Regions from separate parts of the Homo sapiens genome. Here all the other regions are linked to region 6. Evidence: promoter capture Hi-C in 16 types of primary human blood cells and fetal thymus (Javierre and others, 2016). All regions are on one chromosome and are shown on one strand. Each heading gives the region's core, a stretch centred on a gene start or on the middle of the fragment in contact. The rest is flanking DNA. Distances are from core to core; before and after follow the strand shown. Region 1 overlaps GXYLT2 (glucoside xylosyltransferase 2). Region 2 overlaps SHQ1 (SHQ1, H/ACA ribonucleoprotein assembly factor). Region 3 has its middle 10 kb from the start of GXYLT2. Region 4 overlaps SHQ1 (SHQ1, H/ACA ribonucleoprotein assembly factor). Region 5 overlaps SHQ1 (SHQ1, H/ACA ribonucleoprotein assembly factor). Region 6 holds the start of PROK2 (prokineticin 2). Region 7 overlaps SHQ1 (SHQ1, H/ACA ribonucleoprotein assembly factor).

What was found. The method cuts DNA at HindIII sites, captures the fragments that hold promoters and counts their contacts. A CHiCAGO score of 5 or more calls a contact.
Region 1: a fragment that was not itself captured here is called in contact with the fragment with the promoter of PROK2 in region 6 in 1 of 17 cell types (naive B cells); the score reaches 5.7 in naive B cells.
Region 2: a contact is called between a fragment that was not itself captured here and the fragment with the promoter of PROK2 in region 6, in 1 of 17 cell types (total B cells). The highest score is 5.1, in total B cells.
Region 3: a fragment that was not itself captured here is called in contact with the fragment with the promoter of PROK2 in region 6 in 1 of 17 cell types (naive B cells); the score reaches 5.7 in naive B cells.
Region 4: a fragment that was not itself captured here is called in contact with the fragment with the promoter of PROK2 in region 6 in 7 of 17 cell types (naive B cells, total B cells, erythroblasts and 4 more); the score reaches 11.8 in naive B cells.
Region 5: a fragment that was not itself captured here is called in contact with the fragment with the promoter of PROK2 in region 6 in 3 of 17 cell types (erythroblasts, naive B cells and neutrophils); the score reaches 6.5 in erythroblasts.
Region 7: a fragment that was not itself captured here is called in contact with the fragment with the promoter of PROK2 in region 6 in 2 of 17 cell types (total B cells and naive B cells); the score reaches 8.2 in total B cells.

The regions. Positions count from the first base shown.
Region 1 is chr3:72,893,408-72,896,917 of GRCh38, reverse strand. All of the region lies in intron 1 of GXYLT2 (glucoside xylosyltransferase 2), which reads right to left. Among named protein-coding and RNA genes, the nearest start is that of GXYLT2, 7.1 kb to the right of the region's middle. The HindIII fragment of the contact is 817 bases long and covers 999-1,815 here.
Region 2 is chr3:72,806,222-72,809,445 of GRCh38, reverse strand. All of the region lies in intron 9 of SHQ1 (SHQ1, H/ACA ribonucleoprotein assembly factor), which reads left to right. Among named protein-coding and RNA genes, the nearest start is that of SHQ1, 41 kb to the left of the region's middle. The HindIII fragment of the contact is 9,648 bases long and covers 1-3,224 here.
Region 3 is chr3:72,876,324-72,879,851 of GRCh38, reverse strand. It overlaps the pseudogene PSMD12P1. Among named protein-coding and RNA genes, the nearest start is that of GXYLT2, 10 kb to the left of the region's middle. The HindIII fragment of the contact is 1,092 bases long and covers 1,580-2,671 here.
Region 4 is chr3:72,824,969-72,828,389 of GRCh38, reverse strand. The region is part of intron 5 of SHQ1 (SHQ1, H/ACA ribonucleoprotein assembly factor); the gene reads left to right. Among named protein-coding and RNA genes, the nearest start is that of SHQ1, 22 kb to the left of the region's middle. The HindIII fragment of the contact is 971 bases long and covers 1,492-2,462 here.
Region 5 is chr3:72,844,441-72,847,783 of GRCh38, reverse strand. All of the region lies in intron 1 of SHQ1 (SHQ1, H/ACA ribonucleoprotein assembly factor), which reads left to right. Among named protein-coding and RNA genes, the nearest start is that of SHQ1, 2.3 kb to the left of the region's middle. The HindIII fragment of the contact is 587 bases long and covers 1,372-1,958 here.
Region 6 is chr3:71,783,873-71,787,229 of GRCh38, reverse strand. It overlaps PROK2 (prokineticin 2), which reads left to right and starts at 2,082. Exons shown (of 4, transcript NM_001126128.2): 1 at 2,082-2,273. The coding sequence starts at 2,178. LOC105377156 (a long non-coding RNA gene) reads right to left here and starts at 1,840. Exons shown (of 4, transcript NR_199161.1): 1 at 1,707-1,840; 2 at 1,483-1,594; 3 at 1,197-1,293; 4 at 803-1,013. The HindIII fragment of the contact is 4,477 bases long and covers 1-3,357 here.
Region 7 is chr3:72,786,719-72,790,061 of GRCh38, reverse strand. All of the region lies in intron 10 of SHQ1 (SHQ1, H/ACA ribonucleoprotein assembly factor), which reads left to right. Among named protein-coding and RNA genes, the nearest start is that of SHQ1, 60 kb to the left of the region's middle. The HindIII fragment of the contact is 3,053 bases long and covers 1-3,031 here.

The DNA.
Region 1 (3,510 bases), core at 158-2,657, 1.1 Mb before region 6:
GTGTCAACATTCTACCTTACTACAAAACGGATTTGAACTGCTAGTAAACATTTTTTTTTTTTTAATGTGAGACAAGGTCTCACTCTGTCACTCAGGCTGGAGTGCAGTGGCGCTATCTCGGCTCACTGCAACCTCTGCCTCCCGGGTTCAAGCAATATCTCTTGCCTCAGCCTCCAGAGTAGCTGGGATTACAGGCACCTGCCACCATGCCCGGCTAATTTTTGTATTTTTGGTAGAGACCAGGTTTCACCATATTGGCCAGGATGGTCTCGAACTCCTGATCTCAAGCGATCTGCCCGCCTCAGCCTCCCAAAGTGCTGGGATTACAGTCTTAAGCCACCGCGCCTGGCCACACTCCTTCAGCTTTTAATGAGTACCAGGAGACTGAGATTGGTGTATCCTTTATTATATATAGAAGCTGAGTCTCAGTTTCCTCAAGTCATACCTACCCCCACAAGAAAAGGCTGCTTGAATCTGCATCTTTTTTAAAAGATATAAAACTGAAATAGAGATGGGTGTCTCACTATATTGCCTAGGGTGGTCTCTAACTCCTGGGCTCAACCAATCCTCCTGCCTCAGCCTCCCAAAGTGCTGGGATTACAGGCATGAGCCACCAGGCCCAGCCTTGAATCTGTAGCTTAGCCCTTGCTAACACTTGCTGGGAGTTTCTGGTGTGGCATGTTCGGTGTCAGCACTTTACCTGCATTGTCTCATTTTGTCACTGAGCTTATTTCTGAGAAAGCCACAATTTGCTGAGGACCGACTTGTTCAAAGTCACGCGGGTACTTAGCTGGGTCTAGTTATGGCTCAATTCCTAATGCAATGATGGATAATAATAGTACCCAGAACAGCAAATCATTTGGTGACTCCTATGAGCTAATCTACTGTGCTAGGTGCTTTATGTACATTATTATTTCACCTCTCGGATCTCAGTTTTCTGACTCATAAAAGAGAGCCATATTTTGGATTATGTATTCTCTATTGTCTTATGTAAAGCTTGGATTATAAATTGTACCATATGAGATTACAGTCTCTCATGTTGCTAAAAGAGATGGGGGATCATCTAAAAGTCACTTGAAATATATCAAGGTTACTCTTTTCTGGCACAAAATCAGCAACTCCCAATGAAGGTATCATGTCAAAAAACTTCTTTTTCCAAGAGGAGTTTTCGGAACTTCATAATTTGAAATAAATGCTGGGGAATATTTAAGGGAAACATAAAATGAATAAATGAATTCTATCTTCAACAGAAGTCTCTTTTCTTTTTATTATTTGTAAAATTGTGCTAAAATACATACAACATAAAATTTTGTCTTTTTTTTCTTTACAGTGAATTATAAATGAAGTATTCCTAAGGAAAACAAATCTGTTCTCAAATTCTCTTCCAAAGACTCTCACCTGTGAGTTTTAAAAGGAACCGTGTCAATATGGCCAATATTTACTGAATTTAGTAAAGGTGTTAAAAGCAGGTGCTACATATTCAAATTAGTCAGGACTCTCTGGTAGCAAGTAACAAATGCAAGTCAAACTAGATTAAGAAAAAAAGGGGAACTCATTACATCACAGAATCTAGAAAAGGTTGAGACAGCACAGCCAGTGAAAGGCAAGAAGCTGGCCTTGGGAACAGTGTTGGGAGCTGCCCCCCAACCCCGCCACCAGCCCACCTGACCCCACTCCGCCCTACCCCATCTGGGTTGCTCTGCGTCACTTCTCATCTCTCCATATCATCTTGGTTTTCATGAGCTCCTATTGCAGAACAGCCTTCTCCACTGGCAGAAATACAGTTGCAATCCCTGAGTTGCATAATGTAAAGCTTCAGCCACTAGAAACAGTTTGCCCTTACGCTGTTCCCTTAGCCCTCTGTTGTGCCAAACCCCTATTAACCTCAATGGGGAAAGCACCAGGTTCAAGAGGCTGAAGAAAAGACCCAGAGCCAGCAAACGAGACCTGGCGTTTTACTGGGGGCTTCCATACAGGGGAGAGAGTCCAGTGGCAATGGGCTGGGCAGGAGGACCGCCTTACATACAGTCCAGTGGCAGTGGGTTGGACAAGATGACTGCACAGCCCAGTGGGGAAGGGCTGGGCAGAAGAACCACAATTGTTTGCAAAAGGTGTGCAGTTTACATATTATAGCGTTTTCACTTGCCATCCTCCCCTCAACAACCTCCACCTGGCAATCTTCATGCAACCCAAAACTCAAGGCCTTAATCCCCTGTATAGCCCGTGTTCCACGGGGCAGGACGAGGGCTCAGATGTTCCTCACTGAATGTAAGACTGACTCTCTGGGTTGGCCACTCCAGGATTCCCTAGGTTGGAACACACATTCAGGTGCGGCTGGCATGCAGGGTCATTCTAAGGGTATGCTCAAGCTATTGCTATCAGGTACATTTACCATATAGTCTCTGATCCCAATTTTTAAAAATCCTTAAGAAAAGTCTGATTTTGCTCAGGAACCTACCTCTGGTAAGTCACCCGCAGGTTTTGATAAAGTCAAGTGCACATAACGGCTGCTCTAGGGTGTGGTGGATGCTCACTTCCTGGGTGCCCCCACCCAACTATTCCCCTTTCTCTCCATCAATAGTCCCAAGATTTTGATTTAAAAGAACCATCTAGTTCAGCTAAGATGATTTTGGATGCAGTAACAGAACCCTCAACTCCAACACAGGGCCCAAGAAACGTTAGACCTCAGGATGCCTTGATTCTGGGACTCAGCAGTGTCCTCAAGGACCTGTATTTTCTTTTTCTACTGCCCAAACAGATGGCTTCATCCTAAAGGCGATTCCCTTATGAATATGGTGGCAGCTGGGGCTATTTATTTCCTTGGTTGTATCTAGAAGATGGAGTCTTTTGTTTAATAATGTAAAATAAGTTCTTTCCTTCTGGCTGATTGGGCCAGTTTGGGTCATATGACATACCTGTGGACCAATAGCTGTTGGCAGAGAAATGAATGTATTGACAGGCTTAGTACTGGATACAAGAAGCTCACACTATGAAAGGCATGGATCATGATGGTGGGCTTAGACACTCCCTTGGGGTGACACAGTGAGACACTATCTCAAAAAAAAAAACCCAAATAATAAAAGTAATAAAAAATAAAACCTATTTAAAAGGAAAAACATTCCTCTCTTTTAATGGTGTTACTATTAAAGACCCTCACTATTCTTCGAAAGGGTATGGGACTATTTTGAATATTATTAGATAATAAGGAACTTAATACTATAAGTAAATCTTGGAACACGGCTGGCACAGGCAGGTCCTGCACCCATTCATTAGTTCATTCAACAAGTATTTATTGAATATCTGCTATGAGATCATCTATCTCTGTTTTAGGAGTTAGTGAAACAGTGATTTAAGGAGATCACTGTTAAGTGTACATGAGGGGGCAGGAGCAAATAACATACAATATTCACACAATGAGTGCTGTGAAAAACAAAAGACTACACAGGGTAAGGAAGAAGAGAGTGATGGAGAGGAGTACTCGAGCGGCTAGCAGGACCCCTCTCAGGAGAA
Region 2 (3,224 bases), core at 152-2,651, 1.0 Mb before region 6:
CCTTCTTCTTGGATGGAATATATATCCTATATATATCATATCATATATTTGTCTCCTATAATATATATCCTATAACTTTTTCTATCACTTTAGATTTTAAAAAAGTTCTTTTACCACTTCTAGTCACAAGAGGAGTCTAATTTCAGTGCTTAAAATGTCCACTTTGAACTTCATTACAAAAGAAATTCTTCCCTTCCCCAGCTGGGACCTGCCTGAGGGTGGGTGACCAGCGGCAGGGAGGAGGACCCCTTTCACTTTGGCAGGACATACCACTTACCTCCACTTGGCCACCCCATGTTGCTCTGTCCTGCTTCTTAATGGAAGCCAGACACCAATCTTTGTACTCTCCAGTTGGTATCTACGGTTAAAATTTCCAGGGTAAGCAGGTTGTACTCTCTTAGGGCCTCTTAAAACCCCCTTTCTCTTGGTTTAAGGTAACAGAAAAGCACCTCCTTCCTGCACCCACACCACCTTTATCCATGGACATTTTTTCTGGACCTCTTTACTCTTAAGCTCCTGAAGGTGAATATTCAGTGAATGAATTACAAATCATTTTTAGTTTCTCTCTCTACAAGTTCAGCATAGAGAGGTTAGCATCTCTTTAAAATAAAGGGATACTTGATACCAGTTATTTTCTTTGTGAGCCTCATTAGAAAAGAGTCAGAGTTCTGTCCTGATGTGTTAATAATACATACAGGTGGATGGCACAGGGATGCCATTATTGCCACTGAAGAGGCTCGTTTGTTCGGACACCCCATAATTTAAATAGAGGTAGCTCTGGTTTGGCTAGTTTGTTAATAATAACCACAGCTGCGTGTGTTAGCTACCTTCTGTGTGCCAGCGCTAGGTTCAGTTCTTTAGATACCATATCTCATTTTGCTCATATTGCAGTCCTGTGAAGCAGGCATTACTATCCCCATTTTGCAAATAGAAGACAGGCTCAAAGAAGTGAAGTCAGTGGCCCAGGGTCTTACAGCTAGTAGGTGGGAGAGCCTAGATTTGACTCCAGATCTGTGTAACTTAGAGTCTGTGCACTTACATATATTGAAATAGTTATAAATGAAATTATATGAAGCCTGGAATTTGCTTCAAAATAGTCCAGAGTGGGTTGTGGGAAAGTGGGTGGGGTGTAGCTGAAACAAGGTTGGCTACAAGTTGATTGCTGCCTGGGTGATGAGTATGTGGGATTCATGATACTGTCTTCCCTATTTTTGTACATGTTGTGATTTTCCTTTAGACAAAGTCTTTTTTTTTCCTTAAGTCTGGACTCTTAACCACCATACTACCAAGTTTCAAATTTGAATTTATCCACCATTTTGTGGAAAACATGATTTCTATTAATATTTGGACAGTTTTCTAAATTTTTTTGGCTAAGAAAAACGTATACAATTGTTCTTTCTATTTGCTGTTTTGTTTTTAAGGTTAATAGAAACCTACTTTCTAATAACATGTGAAGTCTGATGAATAGTAGCTACCTAGCAGGTAGTAACCCAAGAAACAGCCTTCAGGAGTTTAGTTGTTGTCCCCAATTAAAACCAGGTATTACTTCAGGTAATTAATAGCCCTTACTTATCAATTATTAATTGGGCTCAATAAACAAATTTTCAGAAATTACTGCTTTACTAACCTCTTCCATAGATAAAATAACACAATCAATGAGAAAGGAAAGAAGAGCTATGGTACCAAGCACAGGGCTTGTGACTGATCAATTTTTTAAAAGAATAATGGATGTTTAAAACATTGAGGTTTGGCAAGTGTATTGTATGAGCTCCAAGTTTGGAGGAGACTTTAAAGGTGAATTTCTTTTTAATATTTACATTTTATTTATTCCAGAGTCAGTTTAGCAAATGACTTTTAAAAAAATTGAATTGTAGAGGAGATATTGCAAACTCGAAAACTAAAAGATGAAATCACTGCCATTTTCCAGTGTTGACATTTATCTATATTTAACTTCTGTAAGTTCCCAGTTCTGGACATTTTAAAGAATTGTTAGGCCTTTTAATTTTTACTCTTTAAATACATTGTATGAAACTATTTTGAGATTTATTCAACAAGTATTTGTTGAGAACCTGCCATGTGAGGCTGCTGAGCTGGATCCTGAAGATATAATAGTTCTAATGGGGGCACAGGGCACAGAATTACACAACTACCAGGGTTTTTGAAAAATTGCATTTGTAATAAGTAGCTCAAAAGAGAAATATGGAGAGTGAAAATATAAGCCAGGGAAACTGACCTACATTTAAGTCACTGAAGACATGTAACTTCCTACTGTGGGAGCCTCTGCCTTATTTGACCTCTAATTCTCAGCTCCTACTAGTTTCCTAACACCCTCAAGTACTTGTTAATTGCTTGATGAGTTCATTTATTCATTGATTTGTTCAACACATATTTTGAATGTATGCCTACTCAGGAGCCAGTCCATACAAAGCACCCTGTAAATATAAAGAGCACTAGAAAAATAATTTAGATGTGTGGGCTGTATTTGGGGACGTGTTCACTAGCCGGGGAGCGTGTTCACTACCTAGGGAGCTAAGATGTCCATCAGTAACATAAAATATATAGTCAGCCGTGGTAAGTGCCTTACAAGAAATGTGGATTAAGTAGTTCAAAAAAGAGAGAGACGACACATTTCACTAGGGGTCAGGGAAATTTTCATAGAGGCTGTGAGATTTGAATTGGGACTTGAAGGATGGAGGGAATGTTGTAAACATTGTGAGTAAACCATGTGAGGAGGTTCATGGGATAGTGTAGTTTCTGCTATGAAAATGTGTTTGTTGGAATTAGATGATGGAAAATCGATATGCTATCTGATGCTGAGATTTGCTCTACAGCCTCTAAAACTAGTTGATAGTTTCTTTCCTATCTGAGTTAACTGGTCACTGGAATTTATGTCTCTACTTTTTAAATATTATTGCTTAATTCCCTGCTCCTCACCCGGGAGATTGTAATTCCTTGTGTTTTCTTCCTCCTATTCTAAATTGTTCTTGAACTTTTTTTTTCTGGCTTAATTCCCCATACCAGTTAATGTTTCTAAGAATAGAACAATCATAGTGCTCTCAGAAACTAGCATGGAATTAAAGTCAGATACTGAAGTAGCATTTGTACCTGTTTTTGCTGACCATTTTACATACCAACTTATCGAAGAAAGGAGAGAACTTCAGAGTACAGCAGGAGTTAACTCCTGGAAATCATGAACTGCTGCTGAATGTTTGAAAGGGAGAACT
Region 3 (3,528 bases), core at 876-3,375, 1.1 Mb before region 6:
AGCATCTGCTTCTGGTGAGGGCATCAAGCTCCTTCCACTCATGGTGAAAGGTTAAGGGGAGCCAGCCATGTGCAGAGATCACATGGCCAGAGAAGAAGCAATAGAGCAAAAGGGAGGAACCAGGCTGAAAAAGAAATGGAACAGAATATCCAAAAAGTGTGGGGTAACTACAAAGGTATATGTAATTTATGTGTAATGAGAATACCAGAAGGAGAAGAAAGAAACAGAAGAAATATTTGAAGCAATAATGACTCAGAATTTCTTCAAGTTAATGTCAGACATTGTCTTAGTTTATTTTGTGTTGATATAACAGACTGGATAATTTATTTTAAAAAGAGATTTACTTAGCTCAATTTTTTTTTTTTTTGAGACAGAATCTCACATTGTTGCCCAGGCTGGAGTGCAGGCACGATCTTGGCTCACTGCAACCTCTACCTGCTCGGTTAAAGTGATTCTTGTGCCTCAGTCTCCTGAGGAGCATACTTCCACGCCTGGCTAATTTTTGTATTTTTAATAGAGACTGGGTTTCACCATCTTGCCCAGGCTGGACTCGAACTCTGACTTTAAGTGAGCCATCCGCCTCAGCCTCCCAAAGTGCTGGGATTACAGGCGTGAGCCACTGTGCTCAGCCTACTTAGCTTAATGTTCTGTAAGCTAGGAAGTTAAGGGTGTGTGGCTTCTGGCAAAGGCTTTTGCACTGTGTCATAACATGGCGGAGAAAGTAAAAGGGGAAGTAGACACATCCAGAGAGAAAACCCAAGGGGCATTCTGGCTTTATAATAACCCACTTTTGAGGGAACAAATCCATTTTCTCAAAAATGAATTTAGTCTCGCCAGAGTGAGCACTCACTTACACCCACAAGAACAGCACCAAGCAATTCATGAGGGATCTGCCACCTTGACCCAAACACCTCCCAGGAGGTCCCATCTCCCCACACCACCACATTGAAGATTAAATTTCAACACGAGTTTTGGCAGGGACAAACAAACCATATTCAAACCATAGCAGACCCTAAGCCACAGATCCAAGAAGCTCAGAAAACTAAGCAATGTAAGTGTGAAAGAGAAAAAGAAAGAAAGAGACTATACCTAGGCATATCATATTTAAACTGCATAAAATCAAAGGTAAAGAAAAAAACTTGAAAGAAGTCAGAAAATAAAATCTTAACTGTAAAGGAGTAAAGATGAGAATTACATCTGACTTCTCCTCAGAAATCATGCAAGCGAGAACAGAGTAAGGAAATACATGAAGTGTTGAAGAAAAAAAAAACACGAGTCTAGAACTCTGTATCCTGATAAATTATCCTTCAAAAGTGAAGGAGAAATAAAGAATTTCTTAGACAAACAAAAATTGAGGGAATTTGTTGCCAGTATAATTGCTTTGCAGGAATCGTGAAAAGAAATTCTTCAGAGAGAAGGAAAATGATGTAGGTCCAAACCTCGGATCTACATAAAGAAAGGAAGAGCTTAAGAGAATGAATAAGTGAAGATAAAATACAACACATATTTTTAAAAATTCTTAATTGATATAACAAAAGGTTTGTTCAAAATAATAACAATGTATTTGATGATTAAAGCTTATGTATAAGTGGAAGGAATGACAGTAATAACACAAGGGATGGGAGGGAAGTATTAGGAATATTTTGTTATTATAAGACATTTGCGGAGCAGGTGCGCGGGCAGCTTCCGGTGTGGGTGATGAGTGGTGGCCAAAGCAGGGGGACAGCAAGGGACACTCAGGCAGAGACCATGGCAGACGGCCACTTGCAGCAGGCTGACGGGCGCATATTCAAAATGGAAGTGGACTACAACGCCACGGTAGATCAGTGCCTACCCGAGTGTGAGAAGCTGGCCAAGGAAGGAAGACTTCAAGAAGTCATGGAAACCCTTCTCTCTTTGGAAAAACAGACTCGTACTGCTTCTGATATGGGGTCAACATCCCAAATCTTAGTTGCAGTAGTGAAGATGTGCTATGAGGCTAAAGAATGGGATTTACTTAATGAAAATATTACACTTTTGTCCAAAAGGCGGAGTCAGTTAATACAAGCTGTTGCCAAAATGGTTCAATAGTACTGTATTTATGTTGAGGAAATCACAGACCTTCCTATCAAACTTCAATTAACTGATACTCTATGAATGGTTACCGAAGGCAAGATTTATGTTGAAATTGAGTGTGCTCGACTGACTAAAACATTAGCAACTATAAAAGAACAAAATGGTGATGTGAAAGAGGCAGCCTCCGTTTATAGGAGCTACAGGTGGAAACCTATGGATCAATGTAAAAGAAAGAGCAAGTGGAATTTATTTTGGAGCAAATGAGGCTCTGCCTAGCTGTAAAGGATTACATTCGAACATAAATCATCAGTAAGAAAATTAATACCAAGTTTTTCCAGGAAGAAAATACAGCGAAATTAAAGTTGAAGTACGATAATTTAATGACTCAGCTGGATGAACATGAGGGATCCTATTTGTTTATTTGTAAGCACTACAGAGCAATATATAATACTCCCTGTATACAGGCAGAAAGTGAAAAATGGCAGCAGGCTATGAAGAGTGTTGTACCCTATGTTACCCTGGCTCCTTTTGACAATGAACAGTCAGATTTGGTTCACTGAATAAGTGGTGACAAGAAGTCAGAAGAAATTCCCAAATACAAGGATCTTCTAAAGCTTTTTACCACAATGGAGTTGATGCGTTGGTCCACACTTGTGGAGGACTATGGAATGGAATTAAGAAAAGGTTCCGTTGGCAGTCCTGCAACTGATGCTTTTGGTTCTACAGAGGAAGGCGAAAAAAGGTGGAAAGATTTGAATAACAGAGTTGTTGAACATAATATTAGAATAATGGCCAAGTATTATACTCGGATGACAATGAAAAGGATGGTACAGCTTCTGGATCTATCTGTTGATGAGTCCGAAGCCTTTCTCTCAAATCTAGTAGTTAACAAGACCATATTTGCTAAAGTAGACAGATTAGCAGGAATTAACAACTTCCAGAGACCCAAGGATCCAAATAATTTATGAAATGACTGGTCTCAGAAACTGAACTCATTAATGTCTCTAGTTAACAAAACTACACATCTCATAGCTAAAGAGGAGATGATACATAATCTACAATAAGGGTCTTAATGCTTTTAAAAAAGAGTTAAAATTTGAAGTCATTTTTTGTTTAAAAAAAACTGTTTAAAAAAAAGACATTTGCATTACCAGCGAAATGATACAGTGTTATTTGAAAATGGGCTGGATGTAGTGGCTCACATGTGTTAATTCCTGAACATTAGGAGGCTGAGGTGGGAGGATGTAATCCTAGCACTTTGGGAGGCTGAGACAGGAGGATCACTTGAGCCCAGGAGTTTGAGACCAGACTGAGCAACACAGGAAGGCTGTATCTCTAAAAAAATAAAAATAAATTAGCTGGATGTGGTGGCTTGTGCCTGTGGTCTCTCAGCTACTTGGGAGGCTCAGGTGAGAGGACTGCTTGAGTCCGGAAGGTCAAGGCTGCAGTGGACTATGATTGCACCACTTTACT
Region 4 (3,421 bases), core at 728-3,227, 1.0 Mb before region 6:
TTTTATCATGGTATCCCTTTGCCATTTATTTCCCCTGACCCCACATTGCCTGAATAGTGGTTGCTTATCTCCTCAGACTAGGCTCATTGTTTCTTCCATGCACTTGCCCTGTTAGACTGGCTTAGGAAGCCCACCTCAGTGCTCCCCTGTTACAGTTTGTCTTGTTTTTTACCGCATTGTTTTATAATGTTCTGTATTTGTGTACATGGTTCTCCTTAAATTGTGGAGTCCTTAAGGGCAGAAGTGAGTTTTACAGATCTTCATCTTCCTGATGATGCACGTAGAGGGCATTCAGTGAATGCTTGTTCAATTAGTGACCTTGAAAGTCTTGAAAAAGGCGGGGCATGGTGGCTCACGCCTGTAATCCCAGCACTTTGGGAGGCTGAGGGGGTGGGTCATGAGGTCAGGAGATTGAGACCATCCTGGCTAACATGGTGAAACCCCATCTCTACTAAAAATACAAAAAAATTAGCTGGGCATGGTGGCGGGCGCCTGTAGTCCCCGCTACTTGGGAGGCTGAGGCAGGAGAATGGCGTGAACCCAGGAGGCGGAGCTTGCAGTGAGCCGAGATTGCGCCACTGCACTCCAGCCTGGGCAACAGAGTGAGACTCTGTCTCAAAAAAAAAAAAAAAAAAAGTCTTGAAAAAAAATTGAGATCTCAGATGAAAAAACAGACAAAACTTGAAAGTAATTTATTATGAAAAGTAAAACATTAGTCACCGTCAGCGCTTGTTCATGAAACTCTTAATTCATGGACAATTCAAGCATAGACCACAGTTCAGATTACTAGGACTGTATTAGTGAAATTTTACTCAAAATAATCAAACATTTTGGAGGTGTTTTTGGTGGGGAGGGGGATGGAGGTGGTAGAAATACCATGTTACCAAGCCAGTTTTCTTTTTCCCTTCATCATGGTCCCTTGGGGAGGAAAACAGCATCTTTTCAGTTAGGCTCCTTTACTCTTGCCTTTGGTGTCCTCTGCGCTGTGGTGTCCAAGGCCCTTTTCTCTCACTGTGCCAGTTCTTCCTGGGCAATTTTATCCTCTTCTTGGTTTAAATGCTTATGACTCTCATATCTCTGTCTTGAGCATCAGACTTGTATGTCCACCTACCTATTGGATGGGTCTGTTTGTAAATCCTAAAAAAAGGCATGTCATACTCAACCTATCCCAAGCAGGAGTCGTTATTTCTCACTCATGTCTGTTAGCTTCCCTGTCTCAACGAAGGACACTGTTGTCCACTGAGTTGTGGAGGCCAGAATTCTCAGTGTCATTTTTCACTCCTCGAGCTCTTCATTCCCTACAACCTGAGGGTTCTGTCATCTACGTATAGGTCAGATTCATCCACTTTTCTCCATGTCCACTGCCACTCTCTTATCCTAGGCCACCATTATGTCTGCTTCTCCAGGTTTCTCCCTTTAAATCATTTTCCAGGCTGCAATAAGAGTGATGTTTCTAAACCATGCTAATGTCATTCCCCTATGTAAAAAGCTTTTAAGTGTTTAGTTGGTAGGGATAATCTTTGAGATTTTTTAAACATGGCTTACAAGGTGGTTGCCACTATATTATGTTCAGCTTCTTTCAACTTTTTTTCCCTTAAATGTGCCTTCTTGTTTTCTAGCCTTCGCCAACCAGTTTTTCATTACAGAATACTCTGTCCCACCCCCTTCATCTGGTTAACTGTTCATTATCATTCAACCATTGGTTTAGGTATTATATCCTCCAGGGTCCTTGCCTGTCATTCTAATTTATTTTGCCCTAGAATCCTGTACTGCTGATATGTCATAGCATTTTGCTATATTGTAATTGCTTGACTCTCCCATGGGATTGTAAGTTGTGTGAGGGCCAGGACTGTCTGTGTCTTGTCATGAATGGAACTCCAGTGCCTAACATGGATCATGGAACATGGGACAATGTCAGTACTTTCTGTTGAATGAATGACTTATTTAGCATTTTAGCCATTTATTGTTATTGTTTATCCCTTTGAAATTCATATCCTAGAAAAAAGCTCACGTTCTGATTTGTGGATGAGTTTATAGTAGAACTTCAATTCAAAAGAGTTCCTTCACTTTAAGGAGAAAGAGATAGCTAATAAGAAAATAGGCTTAGCAGGATTAGTTTATGAAGCAGCTATTTTGTCCTTGTCTCATATGTCTGTGCACCTGTTGGAAATTGTTATTGAGAATTCCTATTTCAAGATATTAGCTGTTCAGTTTTGTCTAATATGTACTTTATTTCCTCATATATAAAAATGGAATATTTATGTTGGTTAAGAGCTTGGAGTCTGAAGTAAGAGTTCAGTATGTCTACATCCTAGCTATGGTTTTTACTTGTTCTCTGAACTTGGCCAAGATACAAAACTTTTCTGAGCCTCAGTTTCTACCTTTGTAAAATGAGGATATTGATAGTACCCCATGCCTATAGTGATGGTGTGAGGATTCAAGGAAATAATGGATGCAAAGCTTTTAGTGCGGTGCCTGGAACATACAAAGAACTCCGTAAGTTGTCTGTGATCTTTCTAATTTTTAAGTGATTTCAGTATCTCAGTTGAAAGGGAAGGCTGTGGAAAACTATCAGTTAGAAACTGATATAAGATTATAGTTTACAACTATAAGGTTGTAAAACTATCAGTTAGAAAATTCAGTGTATCAAAGCAACCAATTCCTTGAGTTTCTAGTTAACTAAAATATAAATAAAATTTTCACCATGAGTTATACCTTGTTAATGCTTTTCCCAAGAATACCAATTTCCAACTTTGAATGCAAGATAGAATCATTTCTGAATAAGTGTCCTCCAAGAGTGAGAGGTGTATTTTGAATGTGGCTGTTATTTTTCTAGTTAAAACAGGAATGTAGAGTGCAGGAAAATTAGCTTTCTGTTCTCTACAAATGTTGCTTTTATCTTCTTCAGTAGTTTAAGGAACTTTAAAATTAGTATCTTAATAAAATAGATTTTATCTTGGTAGAAAATATGAGTGCACATGCCAAAAATGGTGTGTGTGTGTGTGTGTGTGTGTGTGTGTGTGTGTGTAGCCCCTTTTAGCCTCTTTGTGGAGATGCAGTATCCTGAATTTCCTACTCATCTGCTTGTTTTTCTTTGCTGGTTGAGTTCAAAAATTTTTTCCTTTATTGAAATTTTACTAAAGTCTGTAGTACTTGCATACCTAGCACAAGTGCTAGATTTCAGTCCAATGTGTCTTCAGATTTGCTTCATTTCACATCATCGAATATGGGATGGGACTTCAGGGTAGGACCAGTCTTCTATGTACCTTCTATTTAAAGAGATCAGAGGTTGGACACAGTGGGTCAAGCCTGTAATCCCATCACACTTTGGGAGGCTGCGGTGGGAGGGTCACTTGAGGCCGAGAGTTTAAGACCTGTCTGGGCAAGGAAGCAAGACCCTGTTTCTATGAAAAAATAGAAA
Region 5 (3,343 bases), core at 416-2,915, 1.1 Mb before region 6:
TTAACTTTGCCCAGGCCGCCTTCTGTTGATCTATCTCTTGTCTGTCCGCTCCCTACTTACCGAAATTCTTACCTTTTTTGGACCTCTTGACACCAAATTAGCCTAGTTCTCCTGCTTCCCTGCTGTCTGCTGCTCTTCTGTTTGGTTTTGTCCCTGAAGTGTGGTTGTTTCCCCCAAGTCTCCGTGAGGGTCTGTCAGCACTTGATCTGTTTAAATTATTCTCCTTGCAGAATCGTAACCTTGGTAGCAGCTAACACTGATAACTCGTAGTGTGGTGGACAAGCAGTTCCGTTAAGTGCTTTATGATGGTGTATCTCATTTAACTTTGACGGTGATCCTTAGGGATAAGCACTGCTATTAACCCCATTCCACAGAACCCGCTGCTACATATTCATCCTAAAGTATTGCCAATCTCTTGTCCTTCTCTTTATCCATCCTCCTAATCTTTCTGAAGTGTAGCTGCATCCTACTTTTCCCACCCAAGTACTTTTGTGGTACAAACCTTCTCCACCAGTCAAGGTGGTTTTTTCACTGTTGCTGAACCAGTTTTGCTCAGATTTCCCTTAGACCATATAACGTCCGTATTTGAATTATTGCACTTTCCAGTTTTTTAATTCACTTATTTCTTTAATTTATTTATTGAGTTTCAGTGTTGGTATTATTGTGCTGAACAAGACAAAGTCCTGCCCTCATGTACTTTTCACTGGGGAGAGGAAAACAATAAACAGTGTACTTAATTGTGGTGAGTGCTATGAGGAGAAAGAAGTGCACTAATAGAGAATGAAAAAGGGCCCATGTTTTATAAAGTGGTCAGGAAAAGCCTTTCTGGGGAGGCGATATTTAAGCCAAGATGTGAAGAATAGGAAGAAGATTATGGTGGTAGCAAATATTTATTGAATTTTTACTCCAGGTTAGTGCTTTATACGGATTATCTCATTTGTTATTAGGACAGTGTTACAACGAGGCTTTATTATTTACCCGTTGCCGTGGATGGATTATTTGTGGGCACCCCCCCAACTCTTGTCCCCAAATTCATATGTTAAAGGTCTAATTCCTGTGTCACTTCTGCTTTATTGTATTCATCAAAACAGTCCCAGAGCCTGCTGAATTTTAAGGGGAGGGAACATAGACCTTCATGGTTGGGAAGAGTGCTGTGAGATGGGCATTCTTTGATAATACAGTTTGCCCCCAGATGTGGTGGCTCACTCCTGTAATCCCAGCACTTTGGGATGCCGAGGTGGGCAGATCACTTGAGGTCAGGAGTTTGAGACCGGCCTGACCAACATGGTTAAACCCCATCTGTACTAAAAATACAAAAAAATTATCTGGGCTTGATGGCACGCGCTTGTAGTCCTAGCTACTTGGGAAGCTTGAGGTGAGAGAATCGCTTGAACCTGGGGGGCGAAGGTTGCAGTGAGCCAAGATTGCGCTATCGCACTCCAGCCTGAGTAACAGAGCGAGACTGTCTAAAAAAAAAAAAAAAAAGAACATACAGTTTGCTATACCAAGGATGAATAAAACCTGGTCCCTCTCCTTGAAGAATGGAGACTGTAGCTGCGGAGGCCCCATGTAAGCAAATATAATTTTCTCTGCAGTAAGAATTTAACTCTAGGCTTATAGAGTTTAGGGGAAGGGAGCTGGTAATAATAGCTCACATTTTCTGAATGCTCACCTGTTGTGCCGGCCACTAAGCTCTTTGCATTATCATTTCATGCTCATAGTAACGCTTGGATAGTTACTGTTATTTCCCCCCTTTACAGAAGAGGGATTTATGATTCTTGAAGAATAATTAACTTGTACAAAGAAGGTTGTTACACATCTGGTAAATGGCAGATCTAGGAGTTAATTCAGATTCTGACACTAAAGTTAGCGTTTGTAACCATTATAACAAACTCATCCATAAACTGACCCCTTATTCTGGCTTAGAGGGATTTTCATTCTGAAAATGTATTGAAGCTTGAGGAAACCTTGGGATTAAAGGTCCTGGGCCTTTTGGGACTGTCAGCTGTTTTTGTTTTTAATCATATTTAGTAGGAAACAAGGGGGAGGGCCATGGGAAGAAAGGAAGCTCAAATTTCAAGTTTGGAATGATATGGAGTGGGCCTGATATGCCCTTCTGATAAGTTTAAATTATCTAGGCAACATGAGGCAGCCATAGACACTTTTTAAAATAGAAAAGTGACAATTAGATTCCTGTTTTAGAAAAATTATTTTGGAGCCTCAGTGGAAGACTGATTGAACTAGGGTAAAACTGGAAGCAGGGAAATCACTTCATTTCTTTTTTCTTTTTTTTTTTTTGGACACAGAATCTCACTCTGTTGCCCAGGCTGGAGTGCAGTGGCAAATGATCTCGGCTCACTGCAACCTCCCCTTCCTGGGTTCAAGTGATTCTTCTGCCTCAGCCTCCTGACTGGCTGGGGTTACAGGTGTGCACCACTATGCCTGGCTAATTTTGTATTTTTAGTAGATATAGGGTTTCTCCATTTTGGCCATGTTGGTCTTGAACTCCTGACCTAAGGTGATCGACCCACCTCGGCCTCCCAAAGTGCTAGGATTACAGGCGTAAGCCACCACGCCCAGCCAATCACTTCATTTCTTTTAGTACAAAAGAGGGGTAAATCCCTACATAATAATGATGAGATTTGACACTTTTGCTTTCTGCTTTTTTTTTAAAGTAGTAATTTGCCTGATAAAATCAATTGGTTTTGTGTTTCTTTATTGTTTCCCATTGAGTATCCCTTATCTGTACAGATTGAGTGTCCCTTATATGAAATTTCAGATTTTCTAGAGTTTTGGAATATTTTTGCATACATAATGAGATATCTTGAGGATGGAACTCAAGTTTAAACACAAAATTTATTTGTTTTATATACACCTTATACATATAGCCAGAAGATAGTTTTATGTAATTTTTTAATACTTTTGTGTATGCAGCCAAGTTTTGACTGCTTTTTGACTGTGACTCATCACATGAGGTCAAGTGTGGAGTTTTCCACTTTGTGGTGTCATGTTGGTGCTCAAAAAGTTTCAGATTTTGGAGCATTTCAGATTTTCAGATTAGGGATACTCAACTTGTGTTATAACAATAGTGATAACTACTATTTATTATGGCTTTTCTTTTTCAGTATCTATTTTGTTGGTGACTAGGGGTATTCAAATAGAAAGATGAGTCATCTCTAATTTCTACTTTCTTGGTTGGGGAAAGAATCTAACTTAGTTTATTAAAATGTGAAAGAAATACTGAGGAACTTCTTAAAAAATGATTGATATATTTTGATGGTTAAATGTTTGCAAGTATTGATGGCCACTTATGTTACGTTATAATTTAAGGACTTCATGAGAC
Region 6 (3,357 bases), core at 833-3,332:
TCCCAACTACCTTTTTTAATGGACTAATCCAAACTCTTTTTTTTTTTCATTTTTCCCTTTATAACAATTGAAGTCAGACTTCATTTTTCAAACTTGGCCTCAGATACAAAGATGACATATCAAGAGCCTTCATTTCTCTCCTAAAGCATTAAAGCAATTAAAATTTCCAAAAGAACATGAAACTAAACAACCCTATTTTTAAGTGTTTCCAAACTTATTTCTTTTTTTTAAACTTGTTTCAAAACAGCCTTATGAGGACTGTTTTCCAAACAGCTGTGTAAGAAGCCAGCCACTTTTGAAATCTGATTTTTCCTGTGTAGACATATCATATTTTCTATGCTTGAAGAAGCAGGGAATACCCAAGCTGGCATTCAATAGTAGCGAATATGAAATAGACCATTAAAAGAAAGTCATAGGAATGTTAAAATCCATGTTGACTGGTTTTTACATTTACCCGGCAGCATTCCCGAGCTAGCGTTGGCATGGAGACTGGAAAAGGAAACTTTCCACAAGTCTGTCACTTGCTACTGTTTCTACTTACTCCACTGTGAGTCCAATTTTAACATTTTTTTAAGTTGAAAAAAGGGTTTGACTCCTTTTGTGTTTTCTGTTCAAGGCGTTTTTTAAACATGAGAACACGTGTGAAAAAGGTTTTTAAAAATCAGCCAAAGATTGGGGTTTCCAAATATTCAGCTGTTTAACATTCAGATAATTGCCTGCCTTCCCCCCGCTATCCCCCACATTTCGTCTGAATGCTTTGGCACGGGGGAGCCCCACAGTCTGAAAGTAACTCTGTCCCAACTCTCCTTACTGCATTTATTAAAGAGGCTGAAAGACGCATCTGCTTTTCAATAGTTTGCGGTTCTTAAGAGACCAGGAAAGCCAGAGGTTCTGACTATTCAGGAAGAAAGTTGGGTTTCCCAAAACGGGCAAGCAAGTTCGGTGTGGTCACATCTAGGTATTCTTGACGTCATTTTTGTTGAGGGAAACAGGCTGCAGTTTTTGGAGCCAGGCTAGGATGAGAGATGGAGGGCAAATCTGTCACTTATTCTTTCCTGGTGTGCCTGGAACCCACTAGACACTCAATTCATGTTTACGTGAATGAAGGAATCACAATAACGCCCTATCGCATCTGTAAAACCGAAGGGTGATTTTCCTGGGCTGGAAAGTTTAAGAAAGAAGAGAGAGCTGCGTACCTAGGGCTTAAGGGGCCTCAGGCTGGCACTCGAAACCAGGCGTTCTCATTTCCCTTTGGCATCACCCTGAACGGCTGTGCCTGGAGCTGGCGCGGGGCTGAAGAGGGGAGGAAATACATGTGAGGAAAATCAGAGGAGAGGGTCGGGAACAGATGTGGGCATAAAGGGAAGGCCTCTGACTTGAAATAAACAAATAGGAGTCCCGCAGCTGGAAGGACAAATCCTTTCACGTCGCGGGTGATGTGGGATTGGGGCGATTTTGCTCTCCCTTTGTTCTTTCCCCTGCCTTCCACGTTTCCAGGGTATTTGATTGATGTCTGTCTTCTCTGTTAAGTTATTCCACCGTGAGGAGAGAGCCGGTGGCAGTACCTGGCACGCAGCGGGCGCCCAGTATAGACCTGCTGAACAAACGAATGGATTCAGGGGCTGCTGTGTCCCCCTCACCCACCCCCCGCCCCCTATGTGTCCACAGCGCCCCGCACGTAGTAGGCGACCCCTAAACATCTGTACAGCAAATGATTTGCAAGTTTTCGGCGCTGAGCACGTGGAGCTTTGGAAACCAGGACAGCAAATGAGTGTCTCGGAGACCACAAAAGCGGTTCCGGCGCGTGCGAAAGGCGGTGGCTGGGCGACGGCGGAGGGAACGGCGCAGAGCGGGGCGCCCCGCCGGGAGCGCTGCCTGCGTGGCGCCCGAGGCGGGGGCGCGGGGGGCCGCGCATAGCACGTGCTCGTCTGGGAGCCGGCCGGGCCGAGGCGGGCGCGCGTGTGCGCGTGGGGCGTGGGGTGTGTGCCCGCGCCGTGCCCCCCGCGTGTGCTGCCGGGCGGGCGCCGGCGTGAGTCACGGCGGGGCTAGCCTTTATAACGGCCCGGAGGCTCGCGGGAGCCGCCGCGCCCGTCCGCCCGCCGCTCCGCGCTCCACCCAGCGCACCCGGGCCCCGCGCCCCCAACTGCCTCCGGCGGCCGCCCAGTCCCGAGGGCGCCATGAGGAGCCTGTGCTGCGCCCCACTCCTGCTCCTCTTGCTGCTGCCGCCGCTGCTGCTCACGCCCCGCGCTGGGGACGCCGCCGTGATCACCGGGGTAAGCGGCCCGGGCGCACCTGTCTGCCCCTGATGCGCGCCTGGGATGTGCCCAGGGGGCTTGGGACGGGGACCCTGAAGGGCAGGCTAGAGGCAAAGGGAGGGTCGCCCTGGGCGGGGACACCTGCCCCTGTCGCCCCTTGGTGCACTTGGGAAAATACCCAGATCCAAAAGCAGCAGACGGCTGGGGACACTGGGCGCGTCCTGGAAGAAACAGTGACAAGGATGTCGCCCACCACCTTTATTACCACCTTCTCCCGCTTACTTCTCCCTCATCACCCACGGCCTCACTCCTCGCATTTTTCTTCTGTTAGGCTGAAAGAAGTTTCTCTCTGAGTCTTCTCAAGTACTTTTGGAGGCTCTCCAACCTCGAACCTTAAAATTTGACGGCCCCTTCCTGAAATGCAAAGGACCAAGACGAATTCCCCAAGTGCCCAGAGTCTTAATCCTACAGTCAAAGAGTTTGCTCCCCGATGCGTCCTCCGCAGAAACCCTTTGAAATCGCTTGGTCCAGGGCCATGTGAGCGCTTTGAAAAGCAATTGTGGGAGCTTCCTTCTGGGTTCCGGGGCTTTCCCCCGCGCTCAGGGTCTTGAGGTATCCCCATAAAAGTTTTAAATTTCTAATTCCTGGCAAAGCACCTCCAGTGCTCCAGCATAATGATGGAGTAGGTTGCTGTGTAGATGTTTAAACTTAGAGACGATGTTTTCATCTTTTCTGTAAGTAGGAACTAGTTCAGTTCTCTCCCACTCTCAACAATTTTGTGTGGATCTGAAAAAATTGGGTTTGCAGTACAATACTAAATAGTCTAGTTTACATTAACAAGGCAAAACTGCTATCATTTCCTGGTTGTTCAACTTCTTTACTGTTTTTTAAGTGAGGAATTATTTCACACCTTCATTAAATTACTTCAAATATTTAAGTGCACATAATGGGATTTAAATAAAACGTCTATGTTTGAAATGTTGATACATAGATAATATCATTTGACTTTAAAGGAAGTATCTTTGTCTTGAAAAAATCAAGCTCTATTTTCTCTATATTAGTTATTAGGTTTATAGAATTTTGAAAGTCCTTTTGCTATGAC
Region 7 (3,343 bases), core at 256-2,755, 1.0 Mb before region 6:
TGCTCACTACAGCAAATGTTCTGTGGTTGGCAGCCTTAGAAAGTGATTTGTTTGAGGTTATATGTCTTATAAGAGATAGGTCAGGTCTTCTGGTTCCAGATTTCATATTTTTCAAGATATGCCACTTATGCAACCAGTTGTCTCCACCCATACCATGTGGAAGAAAAAAGATAAAAGCCCTTTCTTCAGAGAGATTTTCCTATAGGAAAAGGAATGAATGAAACATCTGTCTTTCTCATGGATGTTCCCATAGCACTTGGTTGAGAGATCATTGGGCACCTCTCATGCCTGCCTTATATTGTAGGAATCTAGATGTGTATCTCTTTCCCCTCTAAAATGCTAAGGTCTATGTGAATAAGCACCTGTCTGGACCCATCACAGTTTGTGAGCACAATCAGTTTTACTCAAATTGAATGATACCTATTAGACCGGATTAAAGGAACGTTTTTCATTTTTGTTTTAAATGTAGCACTTTAAAAATATAAATCAATTCTAACTTATTTTTATTGGTATTTCAGCTACATATACAAGTTGCCCCATTCTTTGCTGGTGGGCTGCCATCAGTAGCAGTGATAGTTCTGACCCTCTGAAATTTAACAGTTCCATGGTATCCAACCCTTTGGCTTCCATGGGCCATACTGGAAGAATTGTCTTGGGCCACGCATAAAATACACTAACACTAATGATAGCATGGACCAAAAAAAAGATCCATGCATAATTTTTATGATATCCATCACTACAGATAAGCAAAAAAGTCCTTGCATTCAAATAGTTGGCACCTTTTTATATAAGGTGGGATAGAAAATAATGAACTGTAATACATTCCAGCTCTACTTCTCATTGACCGTATGACCTTAGCAAGTCACTTTGTCACTTAATCTAATTCAACCAATATTAGTATTTTGATATTTCCTGTATTTGTTTCCCAATGCATTTTTTAAATATGTAACAAGTTTATTTTTCTTTTTTTTTTTTTTTTTAGTGTTTATTGATCATTCTTGAGTGTTTCTCGGAGAGGGGGATTTGGCAGGGTCATAGGACAATAGTGGAGGGAAGGTCAGCAGATAAACATGTGAACAAAGGTCTCTGGTTTTCCTAGGCAGAGGGCCCTGCCACCTTCTGCAGTGTTTGTGTCCCTGGGTACTTGAGATTAGGGAGTGGTGATGACTCTTAACGAGTATGCTGCCTTCAAGCATCTGTTTAACAAAGCACATCTTGCACCGCCCTTAATCCATTTAACCCTTAGTGGACACAGTACATGTTTCAGAGAGCACGGGGTTGGGGGTAAGGTTATAGATTAACAGCATCCCAAGGCAGAAGAATTTTTCTTAGTACAGAACAAAATGGAGTCTCCTATGTCTACTTCTTTCTACACAGACACAGTAACAATCTGATCTCTCTTTCTTTTCTCCACATTTCCCCCTTTTCTGTTCGACAAAACTGCCATCGTCATCATGGCCTGTTCTCAATGAGCTATTGGGTACACCTCCCAGACGGGGTGGCGGCTGGGCAGAGGAGGTCCTCACTTCCCCGACGGGGCGGCAGGGCAGAGGCGCCCCCCCTACCTCCCGGACGCGGCGGCTGCCGGGCGGAGACGCTCCTCACTTCCCTGACAGGGCGGCTGCCGGGCAGAGAGGCTCCTCACTTCTCAGACGGGGCGGCTGGTCAGAGATGCTCCTCACCTCCCAGATGGGGTGGCGGCGGGGCAGAGACACTCCTCAGTTCCCAGATGGGGTCGCAGCCGGGCAGAGGCGCTCCTCACTTCCCAGACTGGGCGGCTGGGCAGAGGGGCTCCTCACATCCCAGACGATGGGCGGCCAGACAGAGACACTCCTCACTTCCCAGACTGGGCGGCCGGGCAGAGGGGCTCCTCACATCCCAGACGATGGGCGGCCAGGCAGAGACGCTCCTCACTTACTAGACGGGGTGGCGGCCGGGCAGAGGCTGCAAACTTGGCACTTTGGGAGGCCAAGGCAGGCAGCTGGGAGGTTGAGGTTGTAGCGAGCCGAGATCACGCCACTGCACTCCAGCCTGGGCAACATTGAGCACTGAGTGAGCGAGACTCCGTCTGCAATCCCGGCACCTCGGGAGGCTGAGGCTGGCAGATCACTCGCGGTCAGGAGCTGGAGACCAGCCCGGCCAGCACGGCGAAACCCCGTCTGCACCAAAAAATATGAAAACCAGTCAGGCGTGGCGGCGCACGCCTGCAATCCCAGGCACTTGGCAGGCTGAGGCAGGAGAATCAGGCAGGGAGGTTGCAGTGAGTCGAGATGGCGGCAGTACAGTCCAGCCTCCGCTCGGCATCAGAGGGAGACCGTGCAAAGGGAGAGGGGAGAGGGAGGGGGAGGGGGAGAGGGAGAGCCCCAATGCATTTTTAAACCAGTGGAAGCAATACTGCACATACCATTCTGTAGCCTGTTTTATACTCATGATAATACCTTATAAACCATTTCCCTTTATAACATAATATCCATTACAGAGTTTTTTTTAAGTAACTAATTTATTCCTCATTATAAAAAGAGTACATATATGCTCACTGAGAAAATTTCACATTAAAACTGTATGGTTTTAATACATAGCACATTTTGAAATGACAAGGGATCAAGAACGGTGTTCTTTTGTTTTTGCTACATGGAAAAATTTTATTGTTTTTAAATGAAACTAAAATCTAAAATCCTGACTCTTATCAGTACAAATGTGAACCTGTAATTAAGATGTTAAATCACACTTTTCCTCTCTAGTATAGTTTTTTTAAGTAGGTAGTTCTGGGGAAAAAGAAAAAAAGTGTTTTTGAAATTCTAAACCCTCTTTGCATTAAACTGATTAATGGTTAATTAACTCTAATAGTGCAATTAACTTTTTTTGCTGAAATCTTCTGACCTTTTGGACACTAATGTGGGAAGTTTGTAGAGGGAAACAGCTATATCACAAGATAGTTATCTGTCATTTCATAAGTCATGAACCTTAATTTCCTCAGTTGTAAGTAAACCTAAGTCATTTCAGCACTGAAGTTCTAAAATTTTAGAAAGCTTAAGACCTTATGATTGCTTTAGATTCTTGAGTTGCTTTCTATGTGCATGTGCTTTTGAAGGGGATAGGATTATGCTAAGAACAGGGTAGATAACATACATCTCTTCCTTCTGGCTCTCTGTTGTTCCTGGTTCCTCTGCCAAAATGAGGTAGTGAGAGAGACTCATATGCAGAGGTGCAACATCAGAATTGCATGTAAAAGTGGAGTCATGTATTTTTTTTCAACCAGTAGTTATTGAGCTCTATTATGTGCCAGGTGGTGAGATAGGTGCTGGGAATACTGTGGTGAACAAGAGAGACACGTCGTTGTGAA